4 separate regions of the Homo sapiens genome follow, and regions 1, 3 and 4 are each linked to region 2. Evidence: promoter capture Hi-C in 16 types of primary human blood cells and fetal thymus (Javierre and others, 2016). All regions are on one chromosome and are shown on one strand. The core of a region is centred on a gene start or on the middle of the fragment in contact, and the rest is flanking DNA. Distances in the headings are between cores, read along the strand shown.

Region 1 (5,134 bases), core at 2,449-4,948, 870 kb before region 2:
TTCAGGGCTGTTGCTTCGTTAATGAGTGGAGCTAAAACACATTAGAGGTGGTGGACTAAGGCTTCATATGGCATAGAGAAGGGGGTTCCCTGGTTGAATATTAGAGATTGGGTCATGTATACAGTGATGGACACTAATGAACAAACCAGGAGTAAGCACTCTTGAGGAACAATTTTATCTACTATGCAGATTTCTTCATCAATCCCTTTTTAGGATTGGTGTTCACAAAATTGGCAGTTGATTAATTTAAAAAATAATAATAACAAATATCTAGAGTTAAAAGAATTCTTTTCTGTTTCCCATTCCACTCCTTTGATGTTAACAATTTGATGTTTATGCTTCTATTTTTTTTGCTTTGCTTATATTAGCATATTTACACATAAGTGCTCATAAGGATATATATAAATGTTACCTTGTTTTGTATTTCCCATGATAGTTTTCCAGTACTAATGAAATATAGTACTGTTTCAGAGTCAGATATTAAATAGTAATTTAATTAGATATTTAAAATAAATCTGTATCTAATAAACACTTTTCTCTGCTAATTAGGAAGGTAGGGCAATATAGTGAAATGCGTTTGGGTTTTAGAGTGAGAAACACTCAGTTCAGATCGTTTGTCCACATTTATTGACTTGGCTTGAGAAAGTTCCCTGTCCTTTCTGAATTTCAGTCTCTTGCCTTGCAAAAGTTTCCTCTTCACTTTTGCCACCTTTAAAGATAGAGCATCTGCTCATTCATGAAAAATTTATTTTTTAGCAACCTTTAATTTTTTTTTTGCTATTTTTAATTCTAATTATATATTTTTTTAAATTATGAGGTAGGTCCGGGCCCAGTGACTCAGGCCCGTAATCCCAGCACTTTAGGAGGCCAAGGCAGGCGGATCAATTGAGGTCAGGAGTTGGAGACCAGCCTGGCCAACATGATGAAAACCCATCTCTACTAAAAATACAAAAATTAGCTGAGTGTGGTGGTGGGCACCTGTAATCCTAGCTACTCAGGAGGCTGAGGCAGAAGAATCGCTTGAACCCAGGAGTTGGAGGTTGCAGTGAGCCGAGATCACGCCACTACACTCCAGCCTGGGTGAAAGCGTGGGACTTCGTCTCAAAAAAAAAAAAATTGTGAGGTAGAAACATAAAAAATATAATTGGGTATGCAGTGAAAAGTAAATCCGCATTTCGTAACTGTCTCCCACCTACCCAGGGTCCTCCCCAAAAGAAACCAACGCTTATTACCAGTTGTTTTTGTGTGCCTTTCCAGAGATGTCCTATGTATACCCTGATGCTGATTATATTCTTCCTAATGAGCAAAGATCACATTCTTGTTTTTTTTTCCCTTTTTTTCTTTTTTTTGAGACAGAGTCTTGCTCTGTTGCCCAGGCTGGAGTGCAGAGGCATGATCCTGACTCACTGCAACCTCTGCCTCCCGGGTTCAAGTGATTGTCCTGCCTCACCCTCCTGAGTAGCAGGGATTATGGGCACACACCACTACACCTGGCTAATTTTTGTATTTTTAGGAGAGACGGGGTTTCACCTTGTTGGCCAGGCTGGTCTCAAACTCCTGACCTCAAGTGATCTGCCCGCCTTGGCCTCCCAAAGTACTGGGATTACAGGTGTGAGCCACTGCACCCAGCTGTTGACCACATTCTTAAATATGAAAACTTAAGGACTGTTATTCTGTAGATATTTTTTCTGATTATTTCCCCATTATTTTTTACAAGTCTGCCACAGGTGTGTATTTAGCAGCTTTACCAACTCCTGGTGGTATTCAGATTGCTGGGAAGACTCCTAATGATGGCTCATATGAACAACACATCTCTCATATGCAGAAGAAGATAAATGACACAATTGCTAAAAACAAAGAGTTATATGAAATCAATCCTCCAGTAAGTAAAACAAACCTACATTGTGAATGTATCAGTTATTGTTTATTAGTATATTTTTAGGTTATCTTATTGAGGACACAAGATTTTTTTTTCACTGTTTAGCTCTCCTTATTACTCATTCTTTCACCTCCCTTTATGTCTTTGCTCAACTGTCTCCTTTTCGGGTAAGCCTACTCTAACGATCCTATTTAAAAATTGTGACTTCATTTTTGCCACTTCCTATGACTTTTCCCTCTTTTATTGTTTTCTATAGCTCTTATCTTTGTGAGTGTGTGTGTGTGTGAGTGTGTGTGTGTGTGTGAGTGTGTGTGTTTTGTTGGTCTTTTGCCTGTTAGTACTGGTAGAATGAAGCTTCATGAGGGCTTTGTTTCTATTGCCTAGAAAAGTTCCTATTGGTGGTAGTCTCTTAGTATTTGTTGAATGATGAAATAAATGGTTTAAAATGTTCTTTGTTAGTAAAAAGAGATTCTTATTGGTGGTAAAAATGTGAAAGAATATAGTTTTTCAGTTACAGTTTCTTTTTTTACAAATTTGCTCCCAGTCATTTCCTTTAATCAGTCTTTTTACCAACTTTGCAATAAGTATCACAATGCTGCCTCCTCTGTGGATGACTGATGGCAAGAGTCTGAATTGAAAGAAAAATGGGTTGGAATTAGAATGAAACTATTTGTTTTTATGAGTCTCTGATAATGAAAGACTTTCACAAAAGGAAAGTATAACATTCACACGTATACATATGTAACAAACCTGCACATTGTGCACATGTACCCTAAAACTTAAAGTATAATTAAAAAAATAAAAAAAGAAAGTATAACATTATTGCTTTTATTATTTTAAACGTCTTATCTAATTTTGGCTGGTCTTCTGGAACAGTGTGTCTGGATTGTTGCGTCACATGTATAGCTTTCATCATATTATTCTAGCATAGTTGTTAATTTGGGAGGAATTTTAAGGTTATGACCTACAGCTGCACTATTCATTATTCACTGTGGTAGCCGCTGGCCACATGTGACTTTTGAGGACTTGTGACTAGTCTGAATTGAAATGTGTAGTAAGTATAAAATATACACTGGATTTTAAAGATTTACTGTGAAAAAGTAGTGTAAAATATGAATATTTTTGTATTGATTTTGTGTCAAAAATTTAATATTTTGGATATACTGAATGAAATAAAATGTTTTATTAAAATGGATTTTATCTGTTTCTTTTTACTTTATTATGTATGTGGCTTGCTTTATATTTCTATTGAACAATACTGACTTAGGGCTTCTTTAAAATGAATGCAAATGTTGATGTGTTAACATATTCATATTTGAAAAATAGACTTTGTAAAAGTTCTCTGTGCACCACTCTACTGACTGCTTATTTTTATAGTACATTATTTTTATTTGGTAGTTATATTTTGATATTTGAACATCTGTTTATAGTATGCCACTTGGGAAAAATGATTTGTAAAGCTTTGTGTTAGGGTTTCATATATTCTTCATTTATTATTTCTAATGATATGAGCTGAACTTTTTTACTTACTTAATAGTGTTTCTCACCTCTGTAAATCCATCCTGACCTCTAACAGGAAGAATGGACTCTTCCTCCATTGTGTACTTGTTGTACCTGTATGTACTTGTATAGAAACTGTTACATATTATTGTACTTAGTTTTTATATATCTGTCTTCCTTTACTATAATGTAAGCCCTTTGGAGACAGGGATGTGTTTAAATAAGACTATGAATTAAGTTACTTCATCCATTCAGTACTTATTGAGCTGCTACTATGTGTCATACAGTTTACATTTGGAAGGAGGGAGTAAATCTATTATGATTTTAAAAATTTTAACATATATGAATTTCATGTGTTGAGGATGACTGTATTTTCACAACAGTACTCATCAGTTTATGCATCTTCTAATATGTCTTTCCTTATTGTAGATACTGACTACATTATAGTCTTTTAGCATAATCTCTCAGCATTTTTTTTGACAGAGTCAGTGTACAAGGTTGATTACCAGGCCACTATACACATTACAGTGTTGTGTTATGTCCACCCTGAATATGTAGATCAGAGTGTTCCTTCTCTTAGGATGATAGCCCTCACTGAAATAAATGCTGCTGTTTAAATTTTTTGTCAATACATTAAAAAATGTTTCTAATACAAAGGTGTAGTACCACTTAAGCTTTATGGAGATAATCAAAGGTATCAAAATAAGATGCACATCTCTCAGAATAACAGTACTAGTGATGAAATTTCAGTATGAATCTAGAACATATTAAATACCAGACAGTTATATTTGTTAAGTCTGTGGCATTGTGAACAAAGGCATAACAGAATTTAAAACTATTGTAAAATTATAAAAAGTAGTGTGGTATCTAGTGGGAATAACGTTGCACTGTGTGTCAAAAGACTGACCTAGACTGGCTCTACACTTGCTAGTTTTCCAAATTTAGGCAGACTACTAATTTACTTCTGAATTACAGCTCTTTTCCATTTTGTAGTTATTATAATGTTAACTTTATAGAGGGCAGATTAATTTGGAGTACAAATAAGATAAATTGATGTGAAAGTGCTCCATAGATCATTACATTATGAAATTGTGCAGTGGTAGTCTTTTATCTAAGGTGCATACTACCAATGAACATTTAAAACTATATATTTTTGAAAAATTTTATGTACAATTTCCTTGTTTATTAAAAAGACAATTCTGTTGCATCAGCAATAGGCTATGGCTTTTGCTTTTGCGTTCACGTATTCATATTCTTCCAGCATTCCTTGTGGCCGACAGACACTTAGAACCCCTAGTGATCTTTGGCTATGTAACAGCAAAAAGCTCACTAAGCCATACAGTATTGCACCATACACTGACCTTAAAAAGATCATTATTGTAAGTACCAATGTTTATTTAGCTTAATAAATTGAATAGCAAATATGTGCATAGTATAAGTATATATGTATTCATACTCATACATTGATCATATTTCACATTTTGCTATATGGAGCTTTGAAAGTGGATAAGAAAATATATAAAAGATTAGAATTCTTTCTAGGAACATAAGTCTTTAAATTTTTAAGGCCTATTAGGACTTTTATAATGCTGAATAGAAAATATGCACACACAGCAGTACTGGATTTCAGAGCTGTAAGGACTGCCAATTCCATACACATTGTAGTGTCCTGTGTGTACACTAGATGTCAGTTTTATCTTGTTATGTCTGTGACAGTTATATATATTTTTCTGATTCGTGTATCATTAAGGCTGC
Region 2 (5,386 bases), core at 1,723-4,222:
CTTTTCATTGGGTGATAAAATGTTAGCATAAGTATAAAATTTGGTATCAGGGACTTTTGTGAGTGCTTCTCCCAACTTGGAGAAAACCCATCTCCCTTTCTGTCTGGATGACTGTTCTCTTTCTGCTCTCATCTCATCAATTTGTGCTTTTAGCACAAACATTATAGGAGAATGTTCAGGGATATGGGAGGAAGAGAAATTTCCCTGATTCCTCTTCAAATCTTTTTGCACAAATGACTGCCTTTCTCTGCACAAATACCTGAACAAAGGGAATTCATCCAGATACTATGGATAGATGAAGATATATCCATCTCATGGATATACTTCATATGGTTCCATTTATTTTACCTCTCTTAACCCAATGAACAACTTTGAAAATGATATTTACCATAAACAAGCAAAGCATTGGCAAAGGATGTTCTCATGTTGAGAATAACAGGATCAAGAGAATAAGTCTACTATGAGGGATCATTAGGAGATGACGTGTGGCTGAGAGTGCTGGTACTTGACACAAAAACGCCAAATGGGAACTAAAGACTAGAAATTTCGAAAAATCAGAATAATGAGTGTGAGTGTGTGAAACAATCATGTGTATTTAATTCATTTATATGATTAAACTTTTGAAAACTGTGTTACTCATCCTATATACGGTATATATATATATATATATATATATATATATATATATGTATACGTTTATTGCAGAAAATGTGTAGAACACAAATAAAAATACCACACAAATATCAATCATAATTACAACCAGTTTAAGACAACTATTGTAAGAGTTTTTACATGTAGCCTCCCGTCTTTTGTTTATGTCTATTCCAGCCTTCTATTACATATACTTCATGAACAGAGGTATAGAGTACATTTTCACAAAATTAAATCAATCATACTACTTATTTTATTTTACATCCTACTTATTTTCATTTAGGATGTTATAAAATATACTCATTGATCTTAAGGTCATTTTTCTGAAAAAAATGTTTTCTCTAGGCATTTGATCAGGTAATATATACAGGTGGTACAACTTCAAAAAAATGAAAGAAAAGTAAAGCCTTCTTTTTACCCCTTTCCTTTTCAATGGTAACCTCTGCCATTAGGGAAAGCTTTTACTAAACCATCATATGTGTTATAAAAAAGGCTAAGATTACTAAAGTGGTTGGCATAGTACCAGGCACAATGTTAAGTGACTTATATAGATTATCTCATCCCCATTTTATCAAGAAAACAAAAACTTAGGTAAGAAATTGGCTCAAGTTTACACAGCAGATAAGTGATGCCACAAGTGCCTAACTCACAACTAAGCAGTTGATACCTGGAACAGATTGCAAATAAATAATTCAGCCTTATCATGTAAGCTGGAGAATATGGATCATTGTGCTCCTGTAGCCTGTGTGACACTGGATGAACCAATCTCAAGGCTCCTGGAACAGAAAACTGCAAACGTGAAACTCTATCACTGTCATCCCATTCTCACTCCTGTCAACATGTCCTTAGATTTGGTTTTACTGGAATGTGCACTTGCAGGACTCTCAGAGGTTATGTGAACATAAGCAAACCATTTTATAAAGGAGACAATCATTTTGATCATTTGGGATCATATGTTTTCTATTTTAGTACTTGATTTTTTTTATTAGCCATATAATCTTTTTCTCACAACGCAAACAAATGGATAACAAACTATGTACTTAAATGTACTTTTCTGGACAAAGATAAGAATCAACTGTGTCACAAAATCATAGATGACATTTATTTATTTTTGTTTTAATTAATTTTTTATTTTATTTTATTTTTTAAGAGAGTGGTTGTTCAGGTTGGCCTTAAACTCCTGGGCTCAAGTGATTCATCCCCCTCAGCCTCCTGAGTAGCTGGAACAACAGGTGTGTACTACCACATCAAGCTGACATATTTAATCTATTTGGCTTACATAGATTTATTAATGTAATATAATGAAATGTGGTTCTGCCCATCTTGAGTCATTAAAATAAGTGTAAGTCTATAAGACCAAGTATATAGAAAATAATTTAAAACCTAATAAAAGGTGCTAAAATAGTATTATCAAGTAACAAATTACAATTCTGATTGTAATTCTAACTTAAAGGATATTTTGTATGAGCTTCAGTTCTGCTGCTTTAGAGAATAATAATGTAAAAATATTGATTTTAGCTACATCTGTAAAGATGGCTCAAAATTAAGCTTGCTTGTGAATGCACCAACTCTCTGTAGGTACAATATAGGATATATGTGTATGGGTGTGTAAATAAATTGGAACATATATATTTACAAACATAGAAACACAAGGGAAAAGCAAACATATGCCATTTATCTGCAGTCTGATCCTGATGATTTTTCTTCCCATGTTTGAACATTTACATTGACTGAATTATTCTTTATCAATTTGATAATATTTGAAGGAAATGTACAAACATGACAAAGATTTATTTTTACTACCTCATTAAAATTATTGACTGATGATTATTGACCAGTCAAAATTATGTTTTTTTTCATGTTACACCCAAAGACATACTCAAATTTATGCTTTTTTATAGGGAAAGTTTTAAGAAAAGTAATTGAGAAAAGGGGGCTCAAGATCTCTGGCTATCACCAAAATTCAATTTGTAAGTGTAGAATAAAATAACTAGGAATATTTTTTAAAAGCTCTAGAAATAGGAATCAAAAGAAAGAAGAATATTTAGGAAATCCAAAGGGATTTAAAGCATAAAAATATGTCCCAATCAGTCTACATGTAATCTAAGGAGGCCTGCAAACTTAATGAGGGGAGTTGCCAATATTGTATCACTTTGGAAATGATGAAATAAGCATTGGTAACTGTATGAATCTAGGAGTCTGGTCAAAAGGACAAGGGCTAAAAGGCTGAACTTGGGTCATGCCCTGCCTATCCCAGGAAGTGCTTACCTATGTCCTGAATCAGAGGGTTTTTCTGTTGACAGCTCTGGATTGTTTGGGTAGATACTGACAGGGCAGATACCGTCCTCACAATACCTGCCCAGAAAGACGAGAAAGAGGAGGAAGAATTCCTCCTTCCACCAGGAATTCTGTGGGAAGCACATAAGATTTCATGCTACTAGTTTATTCCCAAGAGAAGCTACCAAAGCCTGGTAACTCTACCAACTCTAACTTTTGTGCCTGTAAGTTCTCTTCTCCTGGGATTACAACTAATTGAAACAGGAATTCAAAGGAGTCTCGGAGGACTGTAAGAAGAATGCTTCGAGGCCGATCCCTCTCTGTAACATCCCTGGGTGGGCTTCCCCAGTGGGAAGTCGAAGAACTTCCTGTGGAGGAGTTACTGCTCTTTGAAGTTGCTTGGGAAGTGACCAATAAAGGTTTGTACTGCTCCTGAAGGTGGATCAGTACACCTTCACTAGGTGACTGAGGAATGTAGAGTAAGATTTCACAGATAACTCTCTAGTGATAACCAATTGCTAGTGAGTGAGGAAAGCATTTAAACGGAATATATATTTAGGCTACATTTAACCTTGTCTATTACAACAGGCTATGAATACAGACTTGTGTATGTGTTGAAGAGGGAGAAAGTTGAAAATATTAGCCATTGCCATGGAATGTGCATTTAAATTAAAATTTAAAATCCATATTATGACAACATAGAAATAAAAAGTTAATATTTACATTTTTTGTTTTAAAATTTTTCTCAGCAAAATAGTATAATTAAACATTTTATTTTAGGAAGATGTATATGTGATTAGAACCAGTTGGAAACCTCAACTCTACATTCTGTTAGTAATTATATGAAATGCTTAAGAATGTTTCATATTCACAATTAGCTTGGAATTAATGTTTTAATTCAGGAGCTTCTCAAAAGGCAAAATACTGTGCTCCTTTCAGAATGAAAGTAATTTTTTTCTTCAATGCTATGCTTATGTAGGAATTATAAAATAAAGAAAATCAAATTGATAAAACAATTTGCGAGTGAGGTATAACCTCATCTGTGCTGGGTAAGAGAAGGCAAGGTAGAGAACCACAATGTAAATGATTTTGAAAATAAAGACATCTGTAAAATTATAAAACAATTCCTTGTGGGTTTATACTCTCTAGTTTAAAAGTGTCAAGACTATTGAAGGAACATTAGCAAAGAAAAAGTCATGGTTTTGAAGGCTGAGTTCCTCAAGATCTTGAAGAATCAAGCCAACTGATTGCTGGGTAAATGGCAGTGATGACTTGTGTGATTTAAACGATCTGAAATTATGTCATGTGTTGTGATATATAACACATTTATTTTTCATTTTGTGTTTACTATTTCATGTCTATTACAGTAATCTAAAGGATCTGAAATAATAACCAGAATGTGATATATTACTTCCTTCTTTTGGCTAATCAGAGCCAGCATAATCTCAAAATTAAATGCATTATATATGGCATGCATTCTGAAAAATCAGAATTCACCTTATACTAACTGTTCAAAGTTCTCGTGTGTATGCATTCATAAAATCAAAATTAAAAGTCAATTTTGCCTATGTAGAAGTGGACAGAATGCATATAAGAGAACAAAGCACGGTCTTATTCTCTGTAGTTTAGTGAGAAAGAATCTAGGAGGACAGAAACCTTATTACAGAGAAGTGAAGTATTTTATGTGTACCTGTTTCTGTTGTTTCTTTTTAAATTATTTTGTATTCTTTTCCTCAGAGATCTTTATCCTGAAATGAGCATGTGTTTTTAATGTCCTTTTTCTAGTCACAAATTTTTCCAGTCCAGTTTTTAAATATGCCCAAAGTTCCTGGGAACAGAACCATCTCTATCACATGTGAATCCCGGAGTATGCCTTGAAATAAAAGTTTTCTCTAGAGAGTGGGCAGGAGCTCAAGGACATAGCTTATTGGTGGATAAAACTGGAAGGGACTTGTTAGCACTGGGAATCAGTCCAGAAGATCTCTGCACAAGTTCCTGCACCTGAGCAGAGCCCCTTCTGCTTTCCTCTTTTCTCATCATTTAACAAACATTAATGGAGCACTGTTACCTGGGCACTGGGAACACGCCAGTGAAACTAAGTTATTTTATGGATCTTATAATCAGTAGCATGTGTGTTGATCTCAGGGTCTAGAACAGTGCCTGGTACATAGAAAATGCTCAATGGATTTTTTTTTGAAAAAATTTGTTTTTCAACCCCTAAGCTGCCTTTAATACTTATTTTCTATCATTTCCCTTTCAAGGGGAAGGGAAGTGTTTTTGTGGAGAGGTCCCCACAATGTGATTTACACAAGTTGATATCATCTTCAATGTATCTTTATTTTAATATTATCATAGCCTGGTATGGTTTGAGATTTTCATATAGATGGATAATTATTGTGTTTATTCCTAATAATACATTGCCACTATAGTTTCTTTAAATTTAATGATTTGAATTTTT
Region 3 (5,139 bases), core at 367-2,866, 850 kb before region 2:
AAGGGAGTGATACTGGCTTGGGATTCCTGGTTACCTCTGTGATCACTCATTTTTTAGTTTCACAAAGTCTTGATACCACCAGAGGGAGCTGTTGATATCGAAGTCTTCGAATGAAGAAGTTGGTGGTGAGAGTTAAGACTAGGGAGCAGCTTATGCTGATCTGTGAAGCATAATCATTATCTTGTCTGTAATTTGTAATCTTATAGACTCTTCCCCACAGCAAACATTTTCCTTCCATGTTTCATTTCAGATATTCTTCCCAACACATTGACCCTTTTCTCTGCCTAGTCTCACATCCTGCTTTCATCATACTCACATTCGTTACTATGTTTATATTTTCTTGTGACTATAAAGTTTCTGAAACTCTTTTTGTGTTACAGTAAGCAAGTAGTCTCCTTTGGCATGGTATTTATGAACTGAGCTAGTTTTCATTTATCAATAGAAACTGCATTTTAAACCTAGATGCTTTTATTTGGTTTGCTTTTGCAATGAAGCCATAAAGATTTCCTCCTATTCTTCTGGCTTATAGAGGTATTAACAAATAACAAAGAAGAGGTACTGGCTTGTACTTAGCATCTGAGCTAATGTTGTTCATATTGTCTTATTAGAACACCTGGAGAGTGCAAGTTCTAACTCAGGTATACCAGCTGCACAGAGAGGTGAGTTTGTCTAATTAAGCAAATAGTCACCAAAGGTGTAAAATTCTAGTTTGGTGGTGCATAAAATTATAGACATTGAAGAAAATGCACTGGACAATATGGAATAGACACCAAAATCTGGCTTTTTTTTTTTTGTAGGTAGAATATGTTCTTTTAAAAGCATCAATTAAACTAATATTTAAATTTTTTAGTATGTTAATGGTTTCCCAGTTTCTAAGCATAAAATTTTAGCTCCTTAAAATTTTTTTTCCAGCTTAGCAGTAGTAAAAGTTATTGTTTTTAAAAGGGGGAACTTGTGAGGCTCACACCTGCCCTGACCCCATATTATCAGAGGCTTTGTTGCCCAAAATCAGACATGGAAACAAAACATTAACAAAAATGGCCCTTTGGTTTTCCTCTTACTGATTGTAGAAAGAAGATACTTTAATAACAGATAAGTCAACTACTAACTTTTAAAAATATATTCTTCAACATTTGATTCTCTTTTTTTAAAATTTTAGGGTAAAACTAGGGAAATGAATTATTCACAAAGCTTTGATTATAAAATAAAATAGAAACAACTGAAATATTGTAAATTAAGAAGAATAGGAAATAAAGTTAGTTAAAGCACAGTATGTGGTCCTTTCATTGATATTTATGTTAGACCCCACTCAGGCTCTCCCTAGGAGACCACACAACTATGACATCACCAGAAATGCTCAGCCTGCTAACTGAGAACTTGGTTTTGGACAAATCAGTGTCTAAAGCTTGACTCTTTACTATCTCTCTTATCTGACTTGAAAAGGACCATTCTTTTTCTGAGTTACAGTTAAATTACATCATCGAAAGGAGTGTTAAGACGAGTAAGAGACATCATCCATATTTTTTTCTTTGTTTTTTTCTTTTGTTTTCTGTCTGTGTTTTCAGCAACGTCAGTTGATTACAGTTCCTTTGCAGACAGATGCAGCAGCTGGATAGAGCTCATTAAACTGAAAGCTCAGACCATAAGGCGTGGATCAATTAAGACAAGTAGGCGGATGTTTCTACCACATTATGATAATCTGAGAAACATATCCCTGATTTCCCAGTGGTGAAAGCTAGACCTTACTACCCAGTAATAACATTGCCAATCCATCATGTATTAGAGTGTGAAAGCTGCAGACTGTAACGGTCATTTAGGAAAAGCTTTTGAAAGGCCTTTAGATTTATTAGTTTTACCTATAGAATTGTGTTTTTAAAATTTTCCTTTTTGTGCAGGTATTCTTAAAAGTATATAAATAGATATTATATCATTCTAATTGGAAGTAAATTGCCAACTCTCTTATTGAAAAGACATTCTTCCAGGACCCAAGGTACTATTTAGTATGTGGCATCTGTCGGTTTATTAAGTGTGATATGCAGAGGGCTAAACTAATAAAGAATTTATGGTGAGAAAGTAGTTATTACCTTACTGCTAGAATCAGAATCATTACTTATATGTTATCTTATGCCATGTGTTTTGGTAAATTTTGAGGTAAATATATTTGAGTGAAAGAGCTTACCGTACATTAAAAGGGGGAAAAAACTACATTTCACAGGAAATAATATAGGATGTGAAACCAGCCAGATCTGGTTCTGAATCCTAGAAGTGCCATTTTAATAGCTATGAGACCTTGGGCAAGTTACTTAACTTCTCTAACCTTCCATTTCCTCATGCATGAAATGGGGATGATGATGATAACCTGTGTTTTTGGGTGGTTGTAAGGATTAGATATATATATATATGTCTGGCTTATGGCAGTTATTTAATAAGTGGTAGCTATTATTTTTTTACTTTATAAACAACCAACTTTTAGCTAGCAGAGGTCGTTAAGCTTTTAAAATTATGAGTTGGTTTTCAAAAAGGTTTGGAAAAAACCAGTATCTTACAACTAGATAACATAAGGTTTATCTACAAGTTGACAATGATGAAGTCGTCTGAAAAAGATGGAAAAATTGCACTGGGAAATAGAACAACTTTCACACTCTCCTTGTAATAATTTGTTCCTACAGCAGATAATTTTAATGCTCAGCCGCTTTTTCTTTTTCTTCACTTTATAACCAATCATTGTGTGTGTAGCTATACTGCATCAACATTTTCTTTTGCAGGAATGCCATTTTTCTTCCAAAAGAATTCCATTCCAGCATTTCCTCTCATGTTTTTCTGTCTCTCTTTTTTAATTGCATGCAGTGCATGATAATTTCTTTTCTTTCATGACATGGCTTAGCCTCACAGACAGCTGAATGTTGTCACCACTTATTTGGAAACCTCAGGGAATAATTGTGTTACCAGCGTCTGTTCTGAATGTTTTCTCATTTTTCTCCAATTTTAGCCATGACAGTTGAAAAAGCAAGTCCAGTGGGTGATGGAAATTTCCGGAATCGTTCTGCTCCACCTTGTGCAAATTCCACAGTTGGGGTTGTTAAGATGACACCTCTTTCTTTTATTCCTGGAGCAAAAATAACTAAGTATCTTGGGATAATTAACATGTTTTTTATTCGAGAGACTACTTCTCTTCGGGAGGTAATTTTATAGAAGTTATTTCATTTTTTAAAAAATTTTCTCTGAAGATTTAGTAACAAAACTAAGTTTCAAATTGTTATTTTTTGCCAAAAACTTACAAATATTTATTTATATTTTAATTATCTGGATTGAGTCTAGAGTTTATTTCATTTAGCAGCGAGGATTATCACAAGAATTGTGTTAGTTTTAAACCTATTTATTGTTAGAAATCTTAGAACCTTATCATATAGTAAATAAAACAAATATCTGTGTTCAAATAGAAGTTTAAAATAGCCCTGAAAGAACAGCTTCGTTTCCTCAGTAATTTAGCAATTTTTGACAGATCACATTTAGAAATAGTAGAGGACTGTATTACAGATACATGTCTAAGGAGATACTTTATGTAATTTAGCTCTGCTGTTTCTTCCTCCTGAGAAAGGAATGAAGCTGCTCATTTTTTACTCTCTCAGTTAGTGTATGAGGATGACATTTCTTCAGTCTTACCTCACACTGAGTATCATTAAACTTTAATTTGGTTTTTAAATAACAAGTTGTAATATTTTACTTGATGTGGGAAAAGTTCAGAATCAGAGTCAGCCTGTTATATCTTTTATAACACAGGAATTTAAACTTAAAAAAATTACGTTGTGTCATATGTTAAGGAACAGGGGCTACCAAGCAAATTAATATGGTGAATAGGGAAATTTTTTAGTTACTGAGGTGTGACATCCAATAACCTTTTCAAATTTTACTTCAGCTGCAGTTTGTATTTTTAAAAAGTATATTCATTATAAAGATGACTTAGCTGTGCCCTTCTTCACCAGCAGTATTTCTATACTTTCTTAGGAATAACAGCCTGCACACTGTCTTTAATATCATACTCACCATCCTGCGCCTAGCACAGTAGCTGGCATGGAATAAACACAATATGTTTTTGTGCAAATAAATGAATAGCTTCTGACAGATTATTTAATTAATTAGATGGATGTTTTCTTTAAGGTAAATTAGGCCAGGCACAGTGGCTCACGCCTATATTCTCACCACTTTGGGAGGCTGAGGCGGGTAGATTGCTTGAGGCCAGCAGTTTGAGACCAGCCTGACCAACATGACGAAACCCCTTCTCTACTATAAATACAAAAATTAGCCGGGCATGGTGGCACATGCCTGTAATCCTAGCTACTCAGGAGGCTGAGGCACGAGAATTGCTTGAACCTGAGAGGTGGAGGTTGCAGTGAGCCGAGATTGCGCCATTGCACTCCAGCCTGGGTGACAGAGTGAGACTCTATCCTTCCCCCCAAAAAAGATAAATTAGTTTTTATATCACTCTTAATTACGTTAAGATGAAAAATAAACTATGAAGATATTCTCAAAAGCCTTTGGATAGAGAATTAAAATAGATGATACTTCTACATCCATTTAAATTTGACAAAGATTTGGTGCGAAAAGCTGGCATATATTATGAATTAACCTTTTCTACTTGCTCTTGGTAGCACATGGATATTACACTATTTTGAATCCATAAAATTGTATTTCCTAAGCCTTCTTGACTACTTAAGCTCCCATACCTCAAAATGTTGCTTCTTAGTAGGTTTTCCTTCAACAGAAACTTATAATAATAATTGTGTAGCACCATATCCCAAATGTGTTAATTGCCTGAGTCGTTTTCTTACAGTTAATTAATATTTTTAAAATTAATCCTCTGTAGCTACTGTGTCATCAGAATTTTTTGATTTAATAAACAGGAAATTGATAAAACTCAAAAAATATACTGAACTATGATTGAGTTGGAGGCAGGCTGAAGCAACTCCCTTAATTCCCTAACTACAAAAAGAGATATCTTTATACAACTATATGTAGGATCCTCAGGCTTTTCAGAAGGATGTGACCCAATAAAATGGTTTTCTAATACTGCAGTCATTTTTCCCCTTCACTTCCAGTTTAAAGTTGGAAATTTCCTCCTAGACTGTAAATAAGTCCAAT
Region 4 (5,289 bases), core at 899-3,398, 900 kb before region 2:
ATTTAGGTTCATTTATTCATACTTATGTAAAATCTTATATGAAAATATTTTCTAATACATAATTTACCTATTTCTTTAGAAGGAAAAAGGAAGTACTATCTTCCATTTAGCTTACAAAAATGTTATTTTCAGTATCTCTTGTCTAGATATTTAAAAGATTTAAGGCTGGGCGCGGTGGCTCACGCCTGTAATCCCAGCACTTTGGGAGGCCGAGGCGGGTGGATCATGAGGTCAGGAGATCGAGACCATCCTGGCTAACAAGGTGAAACCCCGTCTCTACTAAAAAAATACAAAAAATTAGCCGGGCGCGGTGGCGGGCGCCTGTAGTCCCAGCTACTCGGGAGGCTGAGGCAGGAGAATGGCGTGAACCCGGGAAGCGGAGCTTGCAGTGAGCCGAGATTGCGCCACTGCAGTCCGCAGTCTGGCCTGGGCGACAGAGCGAGACTCCGTCTCAAAAAAAAAAAAAAAAGATTTAAGTATAAAGATTACATATAAAGTGATTTTTTATTCTGTGAGACCACCACATGCCTCAGATATTTTGAGGAAATATTAAAATTTAAGTGATCCTAACACTGAAAAAAAAATCTGAAAGACCTAACTACATTATTAATAATATAAGCTTACCTATACGTTTCTCATTTAAAACTCACATTTACAAAGTTCAAATGTACTTGCTCAGTGATTACCGAACTGTTTTCCCAACTTCTTTCTTAATACTTATATTGTGTAATTACCCCGTGTGTGCTGTGCCTAACAATAAATCCATTCGAATATTTTTATGACTCAAAACTTCATTTACATTCAAATTTCCTAATAATAAATATGAATTCATTATGAGGTAATCCTCTAGTTTGTACAATTTTTATTAGATTTCCAGGAACAAAACTTAGAGGACAGAAAAAGAAGTTTAAATGGAAATAAGGATGCATTTTGACTAAACATATTATAATACATTTATTATAAGTGACGTACTCTCCTTCCATCCTCTTCCTTATTTTCCCTCTACCTTTCTGCTGGGCTATACCTAACCACTTCCATAGACCAGTTTTTTACTCTTTTCTTACATAGCATAGATTTTTCTTTCTCTTGTTTAAAGATTACTTCTAAATTTGAACTGAATTTATTTCTAAATAAATTTTAGAAACTTTTTTATACTCAACCTTCATGGGTTACTGAGGTGCACAGGACTGATAGCTTTTGTGCAAAATGATTCCAAGTTGCCGTGCTTTGTGATCATGCTTTTGTGAGTTTGTATTCTCCATGCTTGAAGCAGCCAGTGAATAATTCTTGCTGCTTTTAATAAGCCTGCTTCTGGTGGTATTCTGTATCTCTTTACCAGCTTTTATTTGTTGCATTTAATCTGAGGTGGTCTTGAAAATGAGATCATGATAAATTTTAGAGTTGTTTCTTTTTAAGATAAAAATTTATAACTACTATAATATAGTATGAATATGATCTGTGGGAGTCTCCTATGAATAAAGTATATGAGCTTTAGAGCTTGAGACCGTAACAGTTCTTTTGACCGTTGAGAGCCCTGTTTTGCTTATTTTTCTCAATTATGCTCAATTATGTTCTAAATAGCTGAGGCTACTGGTAAGTGATTCCAGTTAAGTGAGCTACATTAATCTTGCAGCCAGACAGGTCAAACATCAAGTTTTCCTTACTTGCATCCAATTTGTGTAATGTGAGGGGCCTCCATGTTTTCACAGGAGCTCCGTTTTCTTATTGGGTCCTATTTCAATGAATTTCCTTTCTTGGCTTTTTCATTTGTCTTTTTTGTGTTTCTCTTTGTCTCTAAGTTGATGAATTTTATTCTTTAAGAGAGAAGGATAGAATAAAGCTTGCAAGAACTTGTGGAATTTTATTGCCTTCCTAGCTGTTATCTATGTACCTTTCAACTTTCCTTAATGTACCTTTATGCACTTGTATTTGTTCCTGCCACATTGGTGTTGATAGAGTAACCTCACACAATGATTCTCTACCCATCTCAACTTGATATTTGCCACTATCCTCTTTCTCTTAACCCACACTGCTTATCCTCTCACTTATCCTCCTTTGGTCCCACTTTCATTTAGATCCCTTGGCCCCAGGTTTTTAGAGTCTTTACCAGTGTCTTATACTGGGTGTTCATGTGAAGGGGGTGTCTAAACCACTGATAGATAAAGGGGAAGAGGGATAGGGCAGTTCCCTCATCTCATTGAGAAGTTCCATCAGAGTTGGAGATTCAGAGGAAGGAAGAGTGTGTTTCAAATATCTTAAATTGAAGGAACACTTTTTTTTTCTTCATTGAGAACTGATGAAATGGGTCTTTGGATTCTGTATAACATTGTATATATGGGGAAATGGATTTGAAACTCTAAACATTTAATTAAACTTTTAATTACAAAGCATGTGTGATGTGTAATGGGTGGCCTTTTATTTCAAGGGATGTAATACAGTTGCTATGGCAAGCTTTTTAATAAGCAAATTTTTTACACTCTACACACGATAAGTTGTATTTTTCCCTTATTCTTTCCACTAGGAATTTCCATTTTTTACCTTGACGGCATTTCCTCCTGGATTCCTTGTACACGTTGGGGGTGTAGTTAGTGCACGTTCTGTGAAGCTTTTGGATCGTATCCACAATCCTGGTATGTTCTTAAAAAGTTTCAATGTTTCCTTTATTTAAATTGTGGTTATTAAAATTGATTTTTATGATTTTTTTAAAGCCAAATCTAACTGAAAAGAGAAATGAAAAGAAAGTATAAACTAGCACGTTACTTTAATATATTTGTAGTCATCTTAATTATAAATAAACTAAGTGTATTTTAGTTACTTTTCTGTAAAAAACCAATTGATTTATTTTTGGTCACAATATCACTTTAAGGAAATCCTTAAATAACTTTTCTTTGACCCAGGGGAGATAAACATTTTTATAAATTGACCATTATGGCCATTAGTTTAAGATGTTAGTTCTTTTCATTAGCAGTAGCTTTTTATAGATTACTTATTTTCCTTGTTCTTAAAACAGGTATTTTTAAAAATGTAATTGTAAAGCTGGGCACAGTAGCATGTGCCTGTTGTCCCAGCTACTCAGGAGGCCGGGGCAAGGAGGATCGCTTGAGCCCAGGGCAACATAGCCAGACTTGGGCAACAACCTGGGCAACACAACAAGACCTATGTAAACACTGTGGGTGTCATAGGAACAGATAGGTAGCAGAGGGAACCAAACCAGTCCATGGGTCAAAGACCCTCTTGCTGAGCAGGCTACTGGAGCTGTCATTTCTTAGAGCTCATTGTGTAACTTGAACACACTGGGACTGTCTTTGACCACGGCCACCTGTCCCCTCCAGTCTACCCAGGCAGCACTCAGGAGACACAGAACCCAGATCCCAGCACTGTGCTGGGATTCCACTCTGTCATTGGTGGAATCCAGCATGGGCAACAAAGTAATTGTAGGCGTTGTCTAGAGTAGCTAAGAATTGAAAAACAGATGAGCAAACTAACATCTGGTCCTTCAGTTTCTTTTATGTAGCTATTTGTTATGTTTAAGCAAACGAGTAAGAATAGTAGCTTACTTCTTTAAAACATAGGACCATAATTATAAAAGCGAGTAGGCATCAAAGTCCCACTGGATTCAGGCCCTTTGATCAGAAATCCTCTGGTGATTTTTCTACGTCTAAAATAAGCATGATGAATAGTGGGAACTTTCCATATGGAATGTGTTCTTGCATCTCTCATTGACTAGATGCTCAATCAACATACATTAAACCTGAAGTTATATTAGTATTCTTATTTGGTGTATAGACGTATATATTTTTGAAAATTTTAAATTGTCACATCCAGTGACCTCTTTGTGAGGCTTGTATTGACAGCTATAAAAAGAAGGGTGGCCGGACACAGTGGCTCATGCCTGTAAAATACTAAAAATACAAAAATCAGCTGAGCGTGGTGGCAGGCACCTGTAATCCCAGCTACTTGGGAAGCTGAGGCAGAGAATTGCTTGAACCCGGGAGGTGGAGGTTGCAGTGAGCCGAGATTGTGCCACTACACTCCAGCCTGGGCGACAAGAGCGAAACTCTGTCTCAAAAAAAAAAAAAAAAAAAAGAAAGAAAGAAGGGTAAAAATGCTTTGAAGTTATTGGACCAAAATATTGTAGATAATGACTATTTTTGAGGATACAGAGCATTACTATTTTTTAAAATTTTTTTAAAGTTTAATTTATGCCCTGTAGTTTGATGTCATTTGAGTTTATTTCAGAGAAGAAGACTAGAATTCTCTGGACCCTGAATGAGATTTCAGAAAAACAGTGCGAGTCAGGATTATTTAACTCTAAAACTGGGCAAATGCATCTTCTAAGCACTGGTTTTCTCTTTTTTTCCCCTTCTTTAGTTTTTTTTCCCCCCGTTTCTTATTTTTGTGGTCAATATAAGATGTTTTCTCCATTGTAGTATTTGTGTACAGTACTTAAGAAAAATTCAGACTGATGCCAGTTTAATGTATTGGGATCTTGAAGACTATGCCAAATTCTATATCTTTGTGTTAAGGAACTTGAATTATTTGGAAAATGCAAGGAAATACTGAGTTAAAATACCTGACATCACCCTTGTGACCCAAGGCTAGTTACCTGTGTTTCTATGGACCATTGACTCAAATATTTTAATAGATGGCACCCACTGATCTGATAGTTCGAAACATGGTTTCAGGAGTATATTTAATTACTAGATGTCTTCTGCTTACTGAAAAACATTTTGGGCTGGGCACGGAGGCTCACGCCTGTAATCCCAACACTTTGGGAAGCCAGTTTGAGGCGGGTGGATCATCTGAGGTCAGGAGTTTTGAGACCAGCCTGACCAACAAGGTGAAACCCTGTCTCTACTAAAAATACAAAAATTAGCTGGGCCTGGTGGCAGGCGCCTGTAGTCCCAGCTACTCGGGAGGCTGAGACAGGAGAATTGCTTGAAACCGGGAGGCGGAGGTTGTAGTGAGCTGAGATCGTGCCACTGCACTCCAGCCTGGGCAACAGAATGAGACTCCTTCTCAAAAAAAAAAAAAAAGAAAAAAAAACATTTTGATTTTATTTTGTTGCTTCCATGTACTCTGAGTAAGCTATAGAGTCTGGGAGAACAGGTGAAGTTTACTTAAATAAGTTTAAGTAGAGAGTTGTATTTAAAATGTCACTACTTAAAAAAAAAAACGAACTGCATTTTGGGGTTTATTTTATGTGCCAGTTCATGCTAATTGTGCAAGAAATGTAAGAATCCAGGCCCAGGGAAGAAAAGAATGATTCCTATTACAGAATGTGTTTTG

The links. The method cuts DNA at HindIII sites, captures the fragments that hold promoters and counts their contacts. A CHiCAGO score of 5 or more calls a contact.
Region 1: a fragment that was not itself captured here is called in contact with the fragment with the promoter of GYS2 in region 2 in 2 of 17 cell types (non-activated CD4 T cells and naive CD4 T cells); the score reaches 7.9 in non-activated CD4 T cells.
Region 3: a contact is called between a fragment that was not itself captured here and the fragment with the promoter of GYS2 in region 2, in 3 of 17 cell types (total CD4 T cells, non-activated CD4 T cells and naive CD4 T cells). The highest score is 10.0, in total CD4 T cells.
Region 4: a fragment that was not itself captured here is called in contact with the fragment with the promoter of GYS2 in region 2 in 1 of 17 cell types (total CD4 T cells); the score reaches 5.1 in total CD4 T cells.

Annotation. Positions count from the first base shown.
Region 1 is chr12:22,475,061-22,480,194 of GRCh38, reverse strand. It overlaps C2CD5 (C2 calcium dependent domain containing 5), which reads left to right. Exons shown (of 27, transcript NM_001286176.2): 15 at 1,718-1,882. Among named protein-coding and RNA genes, the nearest start is that of C2CD5, 67 kb to the left of the region's middle. The HindIII fragment of the contact is 714 bases long and covers 3,342-4,055 here.
Region 2 is chr12:21,602,433-21,607,818 of GRCh38, reverse strand. GYS2 (glycogen synthase 2) reads left to right here and starts at 2,972. Exons shown (of 16, transcript NM_021957.4): 1 at 2,972-3,347. The coding sequence starts at 3,227. The HindIII fragment of the contact is 12,472 bases long and covers 2,202-5,386 here.
Region 3 is chr12:22,455,012-22,460,150 of GRCh38, reverse strand. It overlaps C2CD5 (C2 calcium dependent domain containing 5), which reads left to right. Exons shown (of 27, transcript NM_001286176.2): 23 at 609-659; 24 at 1,566-1,667; 25 at 2,990-3,180. Among named protein-coding and RNA genes, the nearest start is that of C2CD5, 87 kb to the left of the region's middle. The HindIII fragment of the contact is 418 bases long and covers 1,408-1,825 here.
Region 4 is chr12:22,504,052-22,509,340 of GRCh38, reverse strand. It overlaps C2CD5 (C2 calcium dependent domain containing 5), which reads left to right. Exons shown (of 27, transcript NM_001286176.2): 10 at 2,522-2,630. Among named protein-coding and RNA genes, the nearest start is that of C2CD5, 38 kb to the left of the region's middle. RefSeq lists a silencer at 3,112-3,406. The HindIII fragment of the contact is 611 bases long and covers 1,843-2,453 here.